Regions from separate parts of the Homo sapiens genome. Here regions 2, 3, 4 and 5 are each linked to region 1. The links are contacts of gene promoters, found by promoter capture Hi-C in blood cells and fetal thymus (Javierre and others, 2016). All regions are on one chromosome and are shown on one strand. Each heading gives the region's core, a stretch centred on a gene start or on the middle of the fragment in contact. The rest is flanking DNA. Distances are from core to core; before and after follow the strand shown.

Region 1 (2,766 bases), core at 128-2,627:
GGCAGTCTTGGTAATGTCGAATGGTTTGAGATGTTAAGGAGCACCCGAATATCTCAGAATAGAGCTAACCCCGCTCTCCCCCGCCCCGACCCCATTTAAGATGCATTGATAAGCCTTTAATGAAACTCAAAGTTTACCTTAGCAGGTTTAATATTTGATCTCATCTTCTGAAAGTTCTTACTATCAGTCTTATACACAGCGAGGCGGACTAATTAAGAGGCAAGGGTGATAGGAAACTGGACACACGTCCTCAGCAGGCACAGGAGCAGCACCATATGGCTGACTCACTGGAGGTTTTTAAAAAAGAGAAAGAATATCTTCCGATCAGTACTAAGATGTGGCCTTGCCCATTTGGGAACAGGATTCGCAGACCAAGAAAAGGGTGGCGGGCGTCCCCATGAGCGGGACGTGGGAAGCGCCTCACTTCTGACCTCACGGAGCCTGACCTCGTCCCCCGCGCCTGCCTCCGACCGGCGACGCAGGTTACCTGTAGGGATTCGAATCCACCACCTCTGAGCTCATCTTCTCGATGCGGACCCGGCCGCCCCCTCCGTCGCCGCTCCTCGGGACCTGCAGACTCCTCTCCTGGGCAAGTTCCCGCTCCAGCTCCTGGACCCGCTGCTGCAGGCGCTCCACAGACTCCGCCATGGCTGGGACTCCGGCCGCCAACGCTCCCAGCCCGGGCCTTCGCCGCCGCCTTCGCCCCACGTTGCTCGGCTGGGCCCGCGAGGGGTACGTGGGGAGGCACCTCGCCGCTGCCTTCCTAGCCCAGAGCCCTGGGGACGTGCACCCAGCGCCTCACAGACAGACACGTCTCCGAGACTCCCACAGGCCTTCCTCGGAGCCGCTTCCGGTGCGTCGCAGACATCGCTCCCCCTCATCAAAAACCTGGCTCTTTCGGCTTCCTTCCTCGCTGGGCCGGCTAAACCCGGCCGCAGCAGCACCGGGGTGATAAGTGTCCAGGGCAGGAGGCCAGCGATGTTGCCTTGCTAACCGGGTATCTAAGAGAAACAGGGTCTTTTTATTCTTAGGCTCGACAGTCTGACGGCCCTTTTTCTGAACGGGACCCTGCAGGTCTTCCGCCTGCTGTTGCATTAAATTTGGGGGTGGAAGAGGCTTCTGCGTTGTTCCTTACCCGCAACGATGACCATGGCTTTGCCTTCTTTAAAATTGAGGCCTCCAACTCTGACGCTGACTGGAGAATTGAAACCCGAACACACATTGGGCTCTTTTGGCACTTGACTAGAGCTAAAACCTCGGGATTCAGCGGGCAAGCGTTGCTCAGCAACGGCGCGTAGGCTGTGTGCGGTTGGCTGGAGCCAGACCCCACCCCGGCCTCGGCCCATGCTCTAGAGGGGACGTTGCCCCAATCCTGAAGGACTTCGGCACTCGAGACCTGTGGATGCCGCGTTGCTGTGGCCTGCGGGGGTGATCATGAAGCCAGGTGCTACTGGCGAGTCCGATTTGGCCGAAGTGCTGCCCCAGCACAAGTTCGACAGCAAGTCCCTGGAGGCCTACCTAAACCAGCACTTGTCTGGCTTTGGGGCCGAACGTGAGGCTACGCTGACCATTGCCCAGTACAGGTATGGATGTCAGCCTTTGCCTCCAGCGGAAAAAAATTTGTACATTGAGTTTTCCTTCCTTTGGCCCTGGGTGGTTTCCTAAGTTTCTCCCACCCTGATTGCTTTTCCTGCAGTCAGTGGACGCACCCTACAGGCATGAGCTGCTATTGCCGGCCCTCCGAATTCGATGCTGGGGGCTTCCCAATTGGAGGGCGGTAATGGAAGCGCAATAACGTTCACCATTCTACTATCCAAAGGAATCTTTGTTAAAGGATGGATTTATGTCCCTTGAGGATTCACCAAGGCAATTAAGGCTACAAATTCTGAGAAATAGATGCCTTCTTTTGTGATACAGCCATTAGATCTTTTTCTGAGAAGCTGGTGTAATTCCGTTTGATTGGCCGTATTCCGGGAGGCTGAGTTAATGACACCAGATGGAGGATCCGAATTCGAGTACTAGCTTTTCCACTTAGGAGGTCACAGCACCACTTTGGGCCTCAGGTTTTTTGAAGTGAGGTAATGGAACTGAGTGAGAGGATCCTGAGAGTAGCGTTCCCCACCGGGAATCTGGCTTTAGTCTGATGTTTTACAATAGATAATACATTCTTAAAACTTTATTCTAAAAATAACATTGTTACTAATACAGGGCTACAGAAAGAGTCCTATCATTCAGAAAACTGGATCTGTCACTTGCTGTCTGGGAGTTTAAATATGTTACATAAACACTCTGAGAACTAGTTTCCTAAGTTGTAATACCTATTTTGATTAGTCTTATTAATGAAATGAAATACCGTAATATAGGTGAAAGGGCGTAAAAATTGCAACAACATAGTGTGCTAGTGGTATTTTATCACTAGCATTTATATTCTTTGACTACTGATTTTGGTGAAAATGAAAATAATAATAAATGAGATGGATCAGGGAACATTTTAGGGTGTAGAATTTAAAGGTCCCATGTCCCAATAGATATTGGAAGATGAAGGGAAAGGTGGAATAAAGAATAGCTGAGATTTCTAGGCTAGAAGCCTTGTGTTGTAACAAACTGAAACAGATCAAAGTTCAAATTTCAACTATTTCAATTGCTGTGGAATTTGGACAAGTTACCCTTTGAACATCTAGTCCTGCTTTGGCAAAAAGGAGATAGTAACGTTCATATTGTAGGAGTGTTGAAGAGGTACATAACTGAAAGATACTTAATTCTGAA
Region 2 (2,700 bases), core at 6-2,505, 810 kb before region 1:
TCTCTTGAGAAGTTTTCACATTCTGCAGCCACCATGGTCTGGGATTGGGAGCTTGTCACCTCTCACCTGTGGTACCCTCAGTGGCCTCTTAGCTCATCTCCCCACCTCTAGTTCCTCCTCTTCCTGAGTTCCACACACAAATAGCCACAGTACTCTGTCCAAAGCCCAAACCTGGGCCTGTATCTCCTCTGCTTAAACTCCATTGATGGCTCCCCAGGGCCCCTGATATGGCACACACAGCTGGCCCAGTATGTTTCCATCTTTATCCCCACCCTACAGCAGCATCAACACTTCCAGTCTTGGAGTTTATTTGGTCTGTGTTCTTTCCTCCACCTGCACCATGCTCCTCCATTCCTTCCAGCATCCTCACCTCACTCACTCCTACTCATCCCCAAGTCCAAGCTTAGAGGTAACCTGCCCCAGGAAGCCTTCCTTGAAACTCCTCTGCCGCTACCATCACCAAGCTGGGTTAGGAGACCCTCTGTATTTCCATGGCTCCCCAAGCTCATGCATGCTCTTGAACTTATCACAGTGGGCTAAGCTTGCTTATGGGCACGTCTTTTCCACCAGATGGTGAGACTTGGAAGGAACCAAGTCTCTGTAGTCCCAGCACACAAGTCAGGGCCTGGCACAGAATAGGTTCTTGGTATGTGTAGATTGCCCTGGATGATAGCACTTGTATTATGGTTACACTTATTGCACTATCTATGTCTCCCCATTAGACTGGAAACTTCTTTCTTCTCATCTTCCCATGCACCATGTCCTGAAAACTACAGAGCTAATCAATAAACCCCTTTAAAAAACTGTATCTGTGTTCAACATTTTCCAATAGTTTTAACTATGGTTCACCTATACTTTAGCATCTGGCTTTTTAATATAACACACAAAAAACAAATATCTTTCTAAATTGGATTGAATTAAATTTTGATGCAACAAGTTTCTGTACCCTGTCCTCCAGGAGGAGACTTTTTACACCCTTATGACCACTATGGATGAAACAGAAAATTCTGTCACGACACCATCTTGAATCATGACTGCTGTTAGCATGGATCACCATATTACCTTATTTAAATCTTCTTAATTCCATAGGATATGAGAATGTTGAGTCAGATTCTCATCTGTCTGAGGCATATTTATAAGAGGCAAAACGTGATCACTAGAAAATAAATCTAGATCAGTATCTGGTCTAGGGTTATTATTTAACTAATAGAATCTGGAAACCTTTCTATAGCAGTGAGGATGCAGAAATGGCCACCTTGACTTTGAGCATCATTTGTTCCAACCTCCCTGGGTTTTCTCTCTTTGTTTATGCATGAAAGTACTTAACTTGTGACTAGTTGTTGTTGACATTGGATTTGTAACATCTGTGATTTGGGAACACGCTTCACAGAATCACGGTTGGATCATCTGTCTATAGTTTTTGCTCCATCTTCTAGGTGAGTTCTTCATGTGGCCTGAGGTTTTTCCATGGTGACTTAGGACCCACTGCCAACAGGGCATTCATTGGAACCCCAGCCAAAGGTTATATGTGTCTTCCATCTCACCCTTAAAGTCCGAATCCAGCTTCCCCACCTAAGTCCCTGACATTATGGCAGAAAGAGAGGATGCCTGGTTCTCCCAGAGATGCTTGAGCTGGAGTGACTATGATCAGGCTACTGTTGCAGGCAAGTACACTGGCTCAGTCAGCCACGCAGACAGCACCAGCAAACAAGCTGAGATCACAGAAGCACACTTATTCTGCAGGTCTCTGGAGATTTGAAGGGACTTTCTGGGATTGCAAAATCCTCCAGAAAGTAAAATAGTGACCTTCTGTGACTTCTGGCCTTGAATTCCATTCCTGATTTGAGTTGACTGGACACAGAGTTCAGCAGGTCTCAAGCACCATTATTTGTGCCTAGCTTCCAATGCAAATAGTGCCTTATTGGCAAAGGGGGCCGAAAGTCTCGCCAGCTTGGCTGTCTGAAGCTTATATAAGCTGCGGGGGCCTTGTGTGTGCACAGATCGCTCTGACAGAATAACAGGAATGGCTGGATGAACTTCCTGTATCTGAAAACTGTATGAGAGTTTGTTACCTATTTTGTCCCAATCTGTGCTCCTCACCTTGGCTGCAAGGCCCCGTGACCAGAACGATAATCTACTAGAACCAGCAGGGAACAGAGGCAGCCTGTTCTGGGCTATGGGCATAGACAGAATGGCACTACTCTGAAGTTTTCTGGTTGAGAGTGTAAATTATTTTTCCATTTTTTTCCCCAATGGTTAGGACCCTGGGTTTAAGTGAGGTGACCAGGTGGCTGGTGATGCCAACTTGGAGTTACTGTACTAGTAGCTATTATAGCAATTTTATATGATAATTAATAATAGATGGCATTTATTGACTGCTCACTAACTGCCAGGCACTGTGCTAAGGGCTTGACATACATTATCAAATTAATCATCTCAATGACGTTATGAGGTAAATTCTATTACGATCCTAAAGTGGCTCACACTTGCATTGGCAGCTACAACAATTATCTCCACTCCACAATCGCTTTCTCAATGTGACCTTGCCATTGTCTCATCAAGAAGTTGAATTTATTTCTCTCCCTGTTGAATCTAGGATAGTCTTGTGACTGCTTTGACCACTAGAATGTGGTATAAGTGATGTCCAGAGACTTTCGAGCCCAGGTGTTAAGAGGCCTGGTAGCTTCTGTGCTCACTCAG
Region 3 (2,749 bases), core at 192-2,691, 830 kb before region 1:
TGGGGTGTTGAAGTCTCCCACTATTATTGTGTGGTTATCTGAATTTCTTCTTAGGTCTCCAAGAACTTGTTTTATGAATCTGGGTGCTCCTGTGTTGGGTGGATATGTATTTACGATAGTTAGGTTTTCTTGTTGAATTGAAACCTTTACCATTATAGAATATTAATTATATAAGGGTAACAAATTTTCTTAGTATTTACTTATCTGAAAAGGATCTTGTTTTTCCTTCACTTATGAGGCTCAGTTGGCTGAATATGAAATTCTTGGTTGGAATTTCTTTTTTATTTTATTTATTTATTTTCTTTGAGATGGGGTCTCACTCTGTCATTCAGGCTGGAGTGCGATGGCGCCATCTTGGCTCACAGCAACCTCCATCTCGGGTTCAAGTGATTCTCCTGACTCAGCCTCCCAAGTAGCTGGGATTACAGGTGCCCACCACCATGCCTGGCTAATTTTTGTATTTTTAGTAGAGATGGAGTTTTACTGTGTCGGTCAGGTGGTCTCAAACTCCTGACCTCAGGTGATCCACCTGCCTCGGCCTCCCAAAGTGCTGGGATTACAGGTGTGAGTCACTGCACCTGGCCGGAATTTCTTTAAAAAAAAAAATGCTGAATATAGGCCCCCCCCATCTTTTCTGGTTGTATAGTTTCTACTGAAAGGCCTGCTGTTAGCCTAATGGTGTTTCCTTTGTAGGTGACCTGCTGTTTCTCTCTAGCTGCCTTTAAAACTTTTTCTTTATTTCGACCTTACAGAATCTGATGACTATGTGTCTTGGGGATAGTGATCTTTTATAGCGTCTGGCAGGGGTTCTCTGCATTTCCTGCCTTTGAATGTTGGCCTCTAGCAAGGTTGGGGAAATATTCACCGGCAATATCCTCAAATATGTTTTCCAAGTAGCTTGCTTTCTCTCCTTCTCTTTCAGGGATGCCAGTGAACTGTAGATCTGGTCTCTTTACATAACCTGTATTTCTCGGAGGTTTTATTCATACTTTTAAATTCTTTTTTTCTTTATTTTTGTCTGACTGAGTTATTTTGGAGAACGGTCTTCAAGCTCTGAGAGTGTTTCCTCAGTTTGGTCTATTCTACTATTAATACTTGAGATTGTATTACTAAATTCTTGAAGTGAGTTTTTTAGGTCTATCGGATCAGTTTATTTTTTTCTTAAAATAGCCATTTCATCCTTCATCTCCTGTAGCATCTTATTGATTCCTTGGATGGGGTTGCAACTTTCTCCTGAATCTCAATGATCTTCATTCCTATCCATTTTCTGAATTCTATGTCTGTCATTTCAGCCATTTCAGGCTGGCTAGGGACGATTGCTAGAGAATTAGTGTGGTGGTTTGGAGGTAAGAAGACACTCTGGTTTTTGAGTTGCCAGAGTTCTCACACTAGTTCTTTCTCATCTGTGTGGGCTGATGTTCCTTCAATTTTTGAAGTTGATGTGCTTTGGAGAGGTTTTCTGCTTTTATCTTCTTTGATGATCTTGGTTTGATTGTGGTATATGGTGGGTTTGGTTGACTTGCTTCATTTCTGGAAGATTTTAGGGGGCCCAGACTCAGCTCAGCACTCCTGGGCTGCGTGCTCTAACTCTGGGAGGGCTGGTGCTGGGCGCCTGGCTGTGCTATCTGAACCCTCAAGGTTAGGAATCTATTCTGCTGGAGGGGCTGAGTTGTTCCCAGTCTGCTGGCCACAGCACTGTGATGGAAGATGCTAGCCAAAGCACTTGGTCAGGGTGGTGTCAGTGAGATCTGTGCTTACTGATGTATGGCAGCAGCTGCAGCAGCATGGCGGGGTGCACACGTGTTAGCTGGGGAGGGGTTCCAGCAGAAATGGGGAGGCGGTGTTCCTGCATGTGCTCATGCCAGTGGTGGTGGTGGTGCATTGGTAGGGGGGAAAATGGGGGCTGGGGCACTGGCAGCCGTGGGGTTGCTGGTGTTGCACTTGTACTGGCGGTGGTGGCAGCTGGGGTGGGGTGCTGGTGGAGGTGAGGTTGCCAGCATTCATGAGCATGTTATAAAATTTTTAAATTTTTGTCTCAATTTTTTTTAAGTCACAAACATTTTTATTGGAAAGCAATGAGCTGCAGCAAAGTGACACTCAGTGCATGCAGCCAAATGGGTGAGGTGGGGGTACAGGTGGGTGCCAAGAGCTGACCCAAGACTAGAGCTCATGACCTCTGGGGCCTCTGGCTATAAGCCCTTTGGGCTGGAGTGTGCAGGCCCAGCAGAAATACAAAAATAAACTCTGTGGTCTAGCTGTCCCTGCCTGTGGTAGTTCGTTTGGGCAAGGTGGTTACTCTTTGCAGCAGGTCCTGTGCTGTCTAGTCCAGCCACAGCGTGGGCAGCAGAAGCCTATGGGGTTGAGTGGACACCTACAGGCTGGAGCCAAAGGGCCAGGCAGGTGTGGCCTTGGGCAGTGCTGAGACTCTGACAGCACCAGGGTCTGGCCTGCAGCTGGGGAGGCCTCAGGGCCTCTCAGGTGGGCAGGTCCAGGCATTGGTTGAAGCTGGATGAAGCTGGGGCCTGTGCTACTCCTCATCACATACAAATCACTGGGAACCTGTCCTCCTTGGTCTGGTCTCTTCGGCCCCACCCTCACTGCCTCCACCTCTGCTTCCTTTCTCTTCCTCCTCTTCCCCCAGTTCCAGGTCCATCTCGTTGCCTGCCTCTGAGGGTGTGCAGGTGGAGCTGCTAATGGAGCGGTGGCTGAAGAAAACAATTTGCTTGAGCCCTTTGTTGTAGAAGAAGTA
Region 4 (2,700 bases), core at 108-2,607, 730 kb before region 1:
GGGTGGGGTTGCACCTCCACAAGAACTCTTCTCAGCTCTCACTGCCTTACTCAGATGTCTGTTATCTTTCTCCTGGGCCATCTCAATTGCATCCTAGTTGAGCTACCTATTTTTAGTCTGTCTTTCTGTGTCATTCCATCTATTTACTCATCCATCAAGCCATTATTTTCTTTCCTTATCCATTCGCTGATCACATATAGGGTGCTTTCACCAGGCCATCAGCATAATCCTTCTAAAACTGGGTCACCCAAAGATCAAAACTTTCAGTGACTCTCTGCTGCCCCAAACTAGAGTCCCAATGCCATAATACCCCATTAAGGCTGTGTCTAATTGGGCCTTTATCCTTCTTTACTGTTTCACTCTGGCCTCTACGCCACCCTCCGTGTGAGGATGGAAAGAGTATGGATTCTGTGGTTAAAGTCCTGGGTTCAAAGCTCAGCTCACTCACTGACCAGCCAGGTGTCTTGGGCAAATATGCTGACAGTGTATTCTTCTTTCCCTTCAGATCCAGCACGTATCCTCACCTTTCCTCAGGCTACCTCCTCTGCTGGAATGCCTGTTGAAATCCATTAATCCTTCCTAGCATCTGCACTGGGAAGGCTTTCCTCCTTGGGTTTCCACAGCTCTTTGTCTATAACTCGTCTGTGTTTGTGTTTCCCCTAATTGGCTTTGTTTTTGGGTGATGTTGGGGTTTGTCCTCCAGCCACATCTCAGAACCTGAGCCCCTTAGGAGCAAGCTCTCATCTTCATAGTGCCCTGGGAGTGCTCGGCACAAAACAGGTCCTCACTGAGTATTTGTTCACTTGTTCCCAGAAACCAAAAGTCCCAGGAACAGTGCTTCCAAAATTTACTGTGCAGAAAGCACCTGGGGATTCTTGCTAAAACACAGATCCTGGCTCAGTAGGACCAGGGTAGGGCCTACAACCTCTTGGGTGTTATTGATACTGCTGGTCCATGGGCCATACGTTAAGGAGCAAGGCACTCAGAAATGAGCAGATGCCCCATGGCTCTCTTTGGACCTGGTTTCCCTGCAGTGGGGCCAGCACTTTCAAGCTCATTACCTCAGAGGTTTCAAGGGACTGGATCTCCCTGGGCAGCTCCACAGCATGCCTGTTGAAGTAGTCCATGGTGATGGTGTTGTTCCAGTAGCTCAGGTTGTTCTCCGGGTTGGCGGTCTTCTTCTTCCTCTTCATGCAGCACACCGTCAGCAGGACAGCTATGGAGAGAGTGCAAGTCAGAGAGGAGAGGGAGGCAGCAAGGATGGTGCCTGGGTTGCACCACCGAACTGATGAGGAGAGTTCCCAGCTGGAGTAAGTGTATGGTGGGAAAAGGGGCAGGGCATGGTGAACTGTACAAAGTGAGCCTTAATTCCACAGAAGACCTTTACAGCAGAAGTTCACAGAGCAAAATCACGGGGCAGAAGTCTTGAATGCTGATAAAATAGCTTTTCTGGTACTATCATCATCATCATCATCATCAAAAAATCCTGTGTTAATAGTTATATAGGACTTACGTCCCAGGCATGGTTCCAAGGACATAGAAATATTCATTTAATCCTCTATTTAGCCCCATAAAGTCAGTACTGTTAGGATCCCCATTTTACAGATAGGAAAACTGAAGCTCAGAGAGGTAAAGTGATAGGCCCAAAAGCAAACCCAGACATCTGGACTCCAAAGTCTATGGTTTTTTTTTTTCTTTTTTTTTTTTTTTTTGATGGAGTCTAGCTCCGTTGCCCAGGCTGGAGTGCAGTGGCGCAATCTTGGCTCACTGCAACCTCTGCCTCCTGGGATCAAGCGATTCTCCTGCCTCAGCCTCCCAAGAAGCTGGGATATTACAGGTGCCTGCCACCATGTCTGGCTAATTTTTGTATTTTTAGTAGAGACAGGGTTTTGCCATGTTGGTTAGGCTGGTCTCGAACTCCTGACCTCAGGTAATCCGCCTGCCTCAGCCTCCTAAAGTGCTGGGATTGATTACAGGTGTGAGCCACTGCACCTGGCCAGTCTATGCTCTTACCAGCTGATTCCTGCCTTAGATTGATGCAAAAGCCCACCTGCACAGATGGCCTGAGGTGGGCTCCACACAGCTTGACTGAGCACAGTGTGACATGTGACCCTGTCTGTTCATCCCTGAGACTCCCAGGGCCCAGGAGGAAGAATTATGTCTCGATATTGTTGATTAACCATGTGTGAATTGAGTGGCTTGTGAGCAGGGAAGGCTTCTGAGGTCAGAGAGGTGGGGTGGCCTGTCCAGATTCACACTGCAGAAGGGTAACACAAGGACAAGGGTGACAGAGGCCTCTTGGGGAGAAGCCATGAAGTGAGGACTGAGTATATCCTGCCCCAGGTTCATCATCACCAGAGCCTCTGGGGATGAGGAGAGCTGAAGCCAAGAGCCACATCTGACATCCTGGTGGTGCCAACCATCTCTGTGCTGGGGAGTCGGGGTCCCAGGCTGGGCTGTCCAGAGAGGCCAGCACCGGGGGTTGGCAGAGGGCCAGCTCTGTTCGCAGCAGCCTGAGGGTCTGGCCAGCATCAGGGGTGGGTTCATGCCAGGGTGTGGGGCAGTTGCACAAGCTGGCACCTGTATAGGCTGAGACCTCACAGCCCAGAGCCCAGGGCCCTGTAGGCTGCCTGGGGAATTCTGTAGCTTTCTTTCCAGCTGCCAGCCTTGCTGGCCTCTCAACCTGGAAAGGTCTCTGTA
Region 5 (2,700 bases), core at 22-2,521, 790 kb before region 1:
TAAAAGAAAGAATATTTTTGTATAGCTGTATGACGTGTTTGCATTTTAAGCCAAGTGTTATTATAATAGAGTCAAAAATTTGGAGTTGGGGACTCTGTGCCCCTTCTCACATACGTTGCCTTAAGCATCTCCTCCATTTGGCTGCTCCTGAATTGTATCCTTTATAATAAGCTGGCAAAAATATGTAAAGTGTTTCCTTGAGTTCTGGGCACTGTTCTAGCAAACTATCTACTTATCCCTCTGCAGAGGAGGTTGTGGGAACCCCTAATTTATAGCCAGTTCATCCGAAGTATGGGAGGGCCAGACTTGTCATCTGAAGTGAGGGCTGTCTTATGGGACTGAGCCCTTAACCTGTGGGATCTGATACTACTTCAGGCAGGTAGTGTCAGGATTGAATTGAATTATAGGACACTCAGTTGGTGTTTGGAGATCTGCTTGGTGTGGAACAAACCTACATATTTGGTGTCAGAAGCATTTTGTAAGAGCATAGGGGACAAAAAGGATTTTTTAAAAAAGAGATGGGGTCTCACCATGTTGCCCAGGCTGGAGTAGAGTGGCTATCCATAGGCATGATCATAGTGTACTTCTCCTTTGAACTCTTGGCCTCAAGCAATCCTCCTGCCTCAGCCTCCTGAATAGCTAGGACTACAGGCACATGCCACAGTGCCCAACTTAAAAAAAAAGTTGTTTTGTTTTACTTGACTAACTAGGAGGTCTAGAGTGTGGTGTGGCATGTTGTCTGAGGTTCCTGAAGCATCCCTGAGTACCCTGCATTAGGTAACCACAACAAATAGACAAGGAAGAACTAGACTTTAAGACCCTCCAGAAATTCTCTGGACCAATCTGATCCTGTCATCACTGAATCATACAACTTCAGAAGCTTCAAAAACTGGACCATGAGGTTCCTGACATTCGTAACACCATAGCTGGAAAGAATATGAATACTGCACTGACCTTAGCCAGAACCTCTTAATAAATTTTTTTATGTCTCTATTTTATTAAGCTTTTAATGACTGAAAAAATAAACAGAATTGGCAGATAAGTTCTAGCAGATGCTGATGGTACCACCTTTATCCCTTAGGCTTTCGCAGTTTAGTGCTCTCCTGTTCCCCCTGCCAGATTCTGCATCTTTTTGCCTGAGAGTTTCTCTGAAGCCTTTGGAAGGCCACTCTGATAGCAGATGGCAGAAAACTGTTGGGAGATGGTATTAACATCTCAGCTCCCTTGCCTTTCCCCTCTCCTGTAGTCTATACCGTTTCTCACAATTCTTCTTGGTTTACACGTCAGTCTCCCACAGTGGTAACTGGTTTGATTAGGCATTCTTTGTTGGTTCCCTTCTTTGCTTCTCCTCTACTGGTATTTTGTTGGTTTTTAACTCCCCAACTTCCAGGTAAACTACCTTAACTCCAATATTTGTTTCAGGATCTGCTTCTGAAGGAACCTAAACTAAGATATAAATTAATCATGTTAATTAATTTTCAGCCTCTGTGGTCCGAAAGGTAATTAAATGCATGCTTGCATTTTCTTTACAAAAGCTTTTGAAAGCTGTGTGTGCTAAGCCATTTCACATTTATGCTATGCCGCCAAGAAACCGACAAGAGATGCTCAGGATGGGCAAATGTCAGCCCCTGAGGGCACAACTGCAACTGACAAAACTATTTATTGGAGGAATTCTGGCTGTCAGTTCAGATCTCTGTTGATGATCAGAGGAATTCACTCATTCTGCAAATATTTTCTGAGCTCTGCCTTTCTGCAAGAGGCCCAGGCAGCATTGGCCAAGCTAAAACAAATACTGTCTGTTTTCTCTGAGATGTAGCTTTCAGATTACTCTATTAAAAAAACACTAATGAATCTGTTCAGAATTAATGTTTGAGTTACTGTTGGGCTAGTGATGATTCTCCAAGGGGTGAGGAGGAGATAATAATGACCTTTTTTTTTTCTTTTTCATACTATGAAGGATTTATTTCTGATAATTATAATAGTCTGTCCTTTCCCAAAGAAACAGTTACCACAGTGTGGTGCACACCGCAGGAGGGCTGGGACAGAAGCAAAGTTTGCAAACTGCTGGGCCTCTGAGGTTTAGCTTTAGAAGCAGAGCCAGGGGAGAAACGATGCAGCCCAATGCAGAGAAAAGGTCTCTGGACCAAGAACAGGAGAGTTGAACTATGGAGCTCTCAACCAGCTGTGTGATCGTGGGAAGTCACCTGCACTCTCTGGGTCTCAGTTTCCTCACACCTAAAATTAGGGAATGGGATCAGATGGTCTCTAGGACCATTAATTATCTGTTATCTGTCATGAGTCTGTTAAAAAAGGCAATGGACCAAACTCAAATCTATGGCTTCACTTTACCTCTGTGTTGCTCCACTTCTCATCAGGTTGGGTGGGGCGAGGGGAAGTCATTTTTTGAATAACTAGGCTCTATTTGCCATAAAAAAGTGTTTGTAGTGACCTGGCTCAATGATTGGTGGTTAGAAAGAAAGGAAGCTATTGAAACGGGGTAGGGGTTGGAGAAATGGGTGAGTGAAAGGATGTTTTCTAGGCTGGAGAACATTTTGGGAATCCAGAATTGATGAAGACCCTGCTGGGAAGGTTCTTGTTGATACTTGGGGGATAGAGGGAGTATGGTGGGAGAAAGGACAGAAAAGCCTCTCCTATTTTTCTTTTCATAGCTTTTTATAATTCTTATGGTTCTCAAATCTG

Evidence for each region. The method cuts DNA at HindIII sites, captures the fragments that hold promoters and counts their contacts. A CHiCAGO score of 5 or more calls a contact.
Region 2: a fragment that was not itself captured here is called in contact with the fragment with the promoter of ACAD11 in region 1 in 2 of 17 cell types (non-activated CD4 T cells and M1 macrophages); the score reaches 6.7 in non-activated CD4 T cells.
Region 3: a fragment that was not itself captured here is called in contact with the fragment with the promoter of ACAD11 in region 1 in 6 of 17 cell types (naive CD8 T cells, total CD4 T cells, naive CD4 T cells and 3 more); the score reaches 8.0 in naive CD8 T cells.
Region 4: a contact is called between a fragment that was not itself captured here and the fragment with the promoter of ACAD11 in region 1, in 1 of 17 cell types (megakaryocytes). The highest score is 5.3, in megakaryocytes.
Region 5: a fragment that was not itself captured here is called in contact with the fragment with the promoter of ACAD11 in region 1 in 2 of 17 cell types (fetal thymus and total B cells); the score reaches 6.8 in fetal thymus.

The regions. Positions count from the first base shown.
Region 1 is chr3:132,658,420-132,661,185 of GRCh38, reverse strand. It overlaps ACAD11 (acyl-CoA dehydrogenase family member 11), which reads left to right and starts at 1,377. Exons shown (of 20, transcript NM_032169.5): 1 at 1,377-1,583. The coding sequence starts at 1,435. UBA5 (ubiquitin like modifier activating enzyme 5) reads right to left here and starts at 857. Exons shown (of 12, transcript NM_024818.6): 1 at 488-857. The coding sequence starts at 648. All of the region lies in intron 26 of NPHP3-ACAD11 (NPHP3-ACAD11 readthrough (NMD candidate)), which reads left to right. RefSeq lists enhancers at 262-541, 912-1,001, 537-1,075. The HindIII fragment of the contact is 2,892 bases long and covers 1-2,766 here.
Region 2 is chr3:133,468,637-133,471,336 of GRCh38, reverse strand. All of the region lies in intron 5 of BFSP2 (beaded filament structural protein 2), which reads right to left. The region is part of intron 1 of BFSP2-AS1 (BFSP2 antisense RNA 1); the gene reads left to right. Among named protein-coding and RNA genes, the nearest start is that of BFSP2-AS1, 21 kb to the left of the region's middle. RefSeq lists an enhancer at 1,685-1,844. The HindIII fragment of the contact is 1,424 bases long and covers 544-1,967 here.
Region 3 is chr3:133,491,352-133,494,100 of GRCh38, reverse strand. It overlaps the pseudogene MAF1P1. Among named protein-coding and RNA genes, the nearest start is that of BFSP2-AS1, 1.6 kb to the right of the region's middle. The HindIII fragment of the contact is 5,013 bases long and covers 1-2,749 here.
Region 4 is chr3:133,388,696-133,391,395 of GRCh38, reverse strand. TMEM108 (transmembrane protein 108) reads right to left here. Exons shown (of 6, transcript NM_023943.4): 5 at 1,062-1,216. Among named protein-coding and RNA genes, the nearest start is that of BFSP2, 10 kb to the left of the region's middle. The HindIII fragment of the contact is 6,155 bases long and covers 1-2,700 here.
Region 5 is chr3:133,452,146-133,454,845 of GRCh38, reverse strand. All of the region lies in intron 4 of BFSP2 (beaded filament structural protein 2), which reads right to left. All of the region lies in intron 2 of BFSP2-AS1 (BFSP2 antisense RNA 1), which reads left to right. Among named protein-coding and RNA genes, the nearest start is that of BFSP2-AS1, 38 kb to the left of the region's middle. The HindIII fragment of the contact is 532 bases long and covers 1,006-1,537 here.